Linked DNA regions of Homo sapiens: region 1 is linked to region 2. Evidence: promoter capture Hi-C in 16 types of primary human blood cells and fetal thymus (Javierre and others, 2016). All regions are on one chromosome and are shown on one strand. The core of a region is centred on a gene start or on the middle of the fragment in contact, and the rest is flanking DNA. Distances in the headings are between cores, read along the strand shown.

What was found. Contacts are between HindIII fragments. The CHiCAGO score rates a contact against its expected background, and 5 or more counts as called.
Region 1: a contact is called between a fragment that was not itself captured here and the fragment with the promoter of NUDT10 in region 2, in 1 of 17 cell types (naive CD4 T cells). The highest score is 5.1, in naive CD4 T cells.

Annotation. Positions count from the first base shown.
Region 1 is chrX:51,472,770-51,475,469 of GRCh38, forward strand. No RefSeq gene overlaps it. Among named protein-coding and RNA genes, the nearest start is that of NUDT11, 22 kb to the right of the region's middle. The HindIII fragment of the contact is 3,535 bases long and covers 1-2,700 here.
Region 2 is chrX:51,331,468-51,334,193 of GRCh38, forward strand. NUDT10 (nudix hydrolase 10) reads left to right here and starts at 1,355. Exons shown (of 2, transcript NM_001304963.2): 1 at 1,355-1,992. The coding sequence starts at 1,499. All of the region lies in intron 4 of LOC105373204 (a long non-coding RNA gene), which reads right to left. The HindIII fragment of the contact is 9,034 bases long and covers 1-2,726 here.

The DNA of each region.
Region 1 (2,700 bases), core at 131-2,630, 140 kb after region 2:
TTAATGTTGTTAATTTTCTCTATTGTTCTTCTATTCTCTATTTATTTTCATTTGAATATTTAGTATTCCTATCCTGCTTATCTTGTTTTGTTTGCTCTTTTTTTGTGGAGATTTAAATGAATTACCCAGTAAGTACTGCTTTAGCTGCTTCTTGCTTTGGTGTTTTGATTACATCCATCTCGAAATATTCTTTAATTTCCACTGTGACTTCTTATTTGACCCACAGGAATGTGTTGTTTAATTTCTACATATTTGTGAGTTTCACATGTTTCTTTCTGTCATTGATTTCTAAATTCCACTTTGGTTAGAGAATATAATTTGTATGATTTCAGTATTTTTAAATCTATTGATGCATGTTTATGGCCTAGCATATGATCTATTTTGCAGAAAGTTACATGTACTTGAAGGGGATATATATTTTATTGCTGTTGGGTGGAGTGGTCTTTAGATGTCTCTTAGTTTAAACTGTTTTATAGTGTTGTTCCCTTGTTGCTACTAGTAGCATGGAACCACCAAGCCCCTCTTAATTGCTCACCATTAAGATACTCACTGTTTTCAACAATGCTTTCAGGCATTAACTTCTCCAGATTTTGTTCCCCATAAATTCAGTCCCTTCAGGCAGAGATGCTATGCTTTATGCCCTGCCTTTCTACATATATAGAAACTCTGGACAAGTGTACCTGAGCTGGGTGTGGGTATAGTAGACCACTTCTCCAGTAACACCTTACTCTATTAGTGGACACTGAGGAGAGATGGTAGCCTCTGGTCATTTCAGCTTGCCAGTCTCCATGTAGAAACTTTACCTTACAAATACACTGGCACATAGGAGATTGGGAACCCACTAGTCTTAGCCTATCACAGCTGAGGCAGAGGCCTCACCCTACAAGTAGGAGCTAGTCCTCTAGCCCAGACTTGCCTGCCTCGACTAGGACTTCTGCAAAATGGCGCTGTGGAGGGATAAGACACTGGTGGCTTTCTCCTCCTGGGTCAAACTATGGACTAGGAACTTGGGGGATAGAGGCCCCCATCTTCTTGGTCATATCCACATGTAGCACATGTAGTAGAGGTCTAGAGTAGAGCTTGTCACATGGGGCTGGGGGAGATAGAACAGCTTGTAGCTCAAATGTCACAGATTCTAACCATTTTTGCCAAGATTTAGTAATTTTCTTAAATACTTCTTCATTTGTTATATGCCCTTATGACAATTTCTAAAGACTTTGTGTGTGTGCATGTGCATGCATGTGTGCGTATATACATAGCTGTCACGAAATAATGGTGTTTCTCTGGGAAATGGGTTCACCAAGATCCTCATATAACTATAACAAAAATGCAGGTTCAGACACTGCCATTTGCAGAGTCCAATTAACAAGAGCAAGGTCTGGTATAAAGAAAGTGACTTTTTATTCCAAAGCTAGCTTAGGGGAAGAAATACAGGCTTCCTGCCATAGAGGTACAAATTCACTTTTGGAGCAGAAAATTGACACTTTTAAAAAGGGACCCAGCATGAATGGCACGCAGGGGAGGAAGCAAACAGGTAGGGGTCTGCATGCTCACTTTGGTGCCTTATCTACCAGGCAGTGAACTGGTGCCTTTGTGAGCAGAACGAGATTGTAAAGGTGGCCGAAACTTTCCAGGTGGGAGAGAGTGTCATAGCAGGCATACTAAGGGTTGTAAATTGACTGTTGTCCCTCAAGGCAGTCTCCTGGTGGGAGAGAATTCTGCTCTGGAGCTTCTAAGAACATGGTTAGATGAACTTGCCCTGTAGGGAGCGTCTGATGTAGGGGAGATAAAAGGTTATAACTGCATTTCTAAAGGGCTACGTAAGAAGTGGGGAATGGGGAAATTGATAAAATAAGAGAAAATAATAATAATAACTCATTTTCTTTTTCTTAGAAATATGAGTATACTCAATTATAATTTCCCACTGTCAGGTTCCGTTTTACTTCTATGGGATTTGGGTGCCACATTCACTCTGGCTACTTCCTGCTGAGAAAGGGCATAGTCATTGTTTGTCAAAATGAAACTGATCTACTTGGAGTTGGAAATATTCACAAGTACCCAGACTTACAGATGATGTTTGTTGGAACATTACGGTGTGAAGTTTGAAGAGTCTTTGGGAAAGCCTGTCTTGCATTTCCATACAGAGTGTGCAACTGCAGTAAACTCCACAACAGAGGAATATGCCTATCCCTGCAATCAAGGCCAATGTTACAAGCAGCTTTTTCTACCAAGATGGTCTTGACCTGAACCAGAATACTGACCACTGGTCTATTGACAATATTATGTCAGACATAGGTTTGAGTTGTTGGTGCATGTCTTGCAAAGCTAGAGACATTTTTCCCAAATTATCAGGGATGTATATACAGCAGCTACTCTTAATTATCATTCAGGTTCCCCACTGCCAATTGTAACTGGATATAATGACAGGATGGCTAAATATGTATTTAAAAGGTTACAGGAAGAGTTATGAACACTCATGAAGGTGGCCATAAGCCCTGTCTAGTCCATGAGAATGGATTAGTTTAGTTAAATAGCTGTGTTCTATCCAGGAGGTAGCACTGCAGATGGGCTAGGCCTCTGTATGTGATGAAGGCAAACAGATTTTTGATAAGAGGCATGTCTATGGAAACAGAAGAAAAATAAAGGTTAATGTTGGGCACAATTTTCCAGATGTTAGACTCACAGCATCTTTAGTTACAG
Region 2 (2,726 bases), core at 105-2,604:
TTGTACTACTAAGTCCTAACCACATTTTTAGGACCCCTTAGTATTTTATTTGTTTTGTGGTGGTTAATAGTACACTTTGGGAGGCCGAGGTGGGCGGATCGCGAGGTTAGGAGTTCAAGAGCAGCCTGACCAACATGGTGAAACCCGTCTCTTCTAAAGCTACAAAAATTAGCCAGGCGTGATGGCACCCGCCTGTAATCCCAGCTACTCAGGAGGCTGAGGCAGGAGGATCGCTTGAACCCAGGAGGCGAAGGTTGCAGTGAGCTAAGATCGTGCCACGGCACTCCAGCCTGGGCGACAGAGCGACAGAGTGAGACTCCATCTCAAAAAATAAAATAAAATAAAATTGTGAAATAGGACGGGATCTCCATGTGCATGGTTTCCCAAACACCAAGTGGTGCTTATCAAAGAGAAAGATAGAGAAGGGTGGAGTGTGTGGAGAATAGGAGAACGTCTCTGGGCTTTAACGCAGGACTACTAGATGGGTGGTGCTCTGGTCTTTAAGGTGTACTGCATCGAAGTGCAAATGGCTGCAACACGGAGGCGAGGAGTGTACCCATGAGGAAACTGAGGTGCAGGGAGGTCAGGCAGGTTGTGAACAGGGGTTTAAGAAAAGCGTTAAATTACTGGCTGCGCCAAGATGCTCTGCAAGGTGGGAACCTGTTGAAGAAATAAAACTGCATCATGTGACTCAGCAAAGATGCCCGGCTACTGTGCCAAGAATCCCGTGGGTTGTGCAGACAACACTAGGGCCCAGGTCCCATGAGTAAGCCAGAATGGTTGATAGTGGGGGAGGATGATGACGACGCTGCCTTTGCCCCTGTCTTGTGTGAAACAACTGCCTGTGGGTTTCCTGCAGCGCAGTGGGGAGTGAGAGGAGAAACGTCCTGCCGTGCCACAGTGAGTTTGGGTCAAAGGCACACATGGAGGCAGTCTTGGCCAAAGTCACAATGCGGTGAATTTCGCTGTGCGCCAAGGAGGTTCCTGGCCCCAGGAGTGCGAAGCGCCTGCGCAGTGGGCCCCAGGCGTTGCGCGCTGCGGGAGCCAGGAGACCCCCGCCCCTGGCCCCTCGCCCCGGTTCCTCGCCCCTCAGCCCACGCCCTCCCCTGCGAACGCGCACGTGAACGGGAGCGCGGACGCGCCCGAGAATGCGCTTCACCTCGCAGAAGCGGGTGGGCTCTGTGGAGAGTCGCGGGCTCGCGGGCAGCAGCGCCTCCTCCACTCCGGCGGGCCCGGGTTCGGCCGGCCGCCCATCGGACTGGCGGACTGGCTGACTGACACGCCTCGCTTGCCCCCGCCTCCGCCCGTGCCCCGCCCAGCTTCATCTCTCCCTCCGCTCCCCGGGCTCGGGGGCAGACGGCAGACGGAGGCGCCTCTCTCTCCCCGCCCCTCTCCTCGGCCCTTTCTCTTCCCAGCACCTCGGCTGCTGCCCGGCAGCGGCAGCAGCTGCGTCGGCGGCCCACACAGCAGCGAGAGGCGAGAGGAGGCTGCCTCGAGGATGAAGTGCAAACCCAACCAGACACGGACCTACGACCCCGAGGGGTTCAAGAAGCGGGCGGCGTGCCTGTGCTTCCGGAGCGAGCGCGAGGACGAGGTCCTGTTAGTGAGTAGCAGCCGGTACCCGGACCGCTGGATCGTGCCGGGCGGGGGCATGGAGCCCGAGGAGGAGCCGGGCGGTGCGGCGGTCCGAGAGGTGTACGAAGAGGCGGGAGTCAAGGGGAAGTTAGGCCGGCTCCTGGGCGTCTTCGAACAGAACCAGGACCCCAAGCACAGAACGTACGTGTATGTACTGACTGTCACGGAGCTGCTGGAGGATTGGGAAGATTCGGTTAGCATTGGGAGGAAGCGAGAGTGGTTCAAAGTCGAAGATGCCATCAAGGTTCTCCAGTGCCACAAGCCCGTGCACGCCGAATATCTGGAGAAACTAAAGCTGGGCGGTTCCCCAACCAATGGAAACTCCATGGCCCCATCCTCGCCAGATAGCGATCCCTAGTATGTACCGCTTGCGCCCGCACAGACTTCTGTTTGTCTGCCTTGCTTAAAATGCATCCCGCCTGGAGCACCTCTCGTACCATGTGCGGTCTCATGGGCAGGAGGGAGGCTTTTGTTTCCTTGGCAGACCCTCTGAATCACGCTTGCAAACTGTTGCCAGGCCCTGTTTTCAGTTGGCACGTTTTTCAGTTGCTTTCAAAATCGCTTCTTGGTTACCCTGTAAAATGTTTCGGAGAAGCCTATGCCGCTTGGGGTTTTAGGTGCTGTAACTGTTCACCCTGCTTTTGGGCGGGGGGGGGGGGGGTGGGGGGCGAGGGGTGGGCGGGGAGTGTGTGTGTCTGCCTGTGCGCCCTGTGATGTTTTTGGTTCTTTTATATTTCACACATATTCGTGGGTGCGTGCACATTTTTGATACCAGCCTTGTGGTTTGTTTGGTAGTGGAGGCCTTTAAAGTCTGACCAGCTTGGTTGTGTGGCATCTTTTAGTATTTTTTTCCCTTGAGTTGTTTTCTCCTTCACAGCGTTCGCCCTTGTTGTCAGGGAGGCCTTCTGTGGTGGGAGTTGGTTTAAAAAATCAGTTTTGAATTCGTAAAAACATTAGGAAATCCTACATCTTGTGCTCTTTCTGCACTCGACAGTCGCTCTAGCCTCTGAAGTGGTATCTCATTTGCCCCTTTCAGAAATTTCTTTTTCTATTTCTATGTAGGTCATTTGGTTTTCAAAAAATTTTCACAA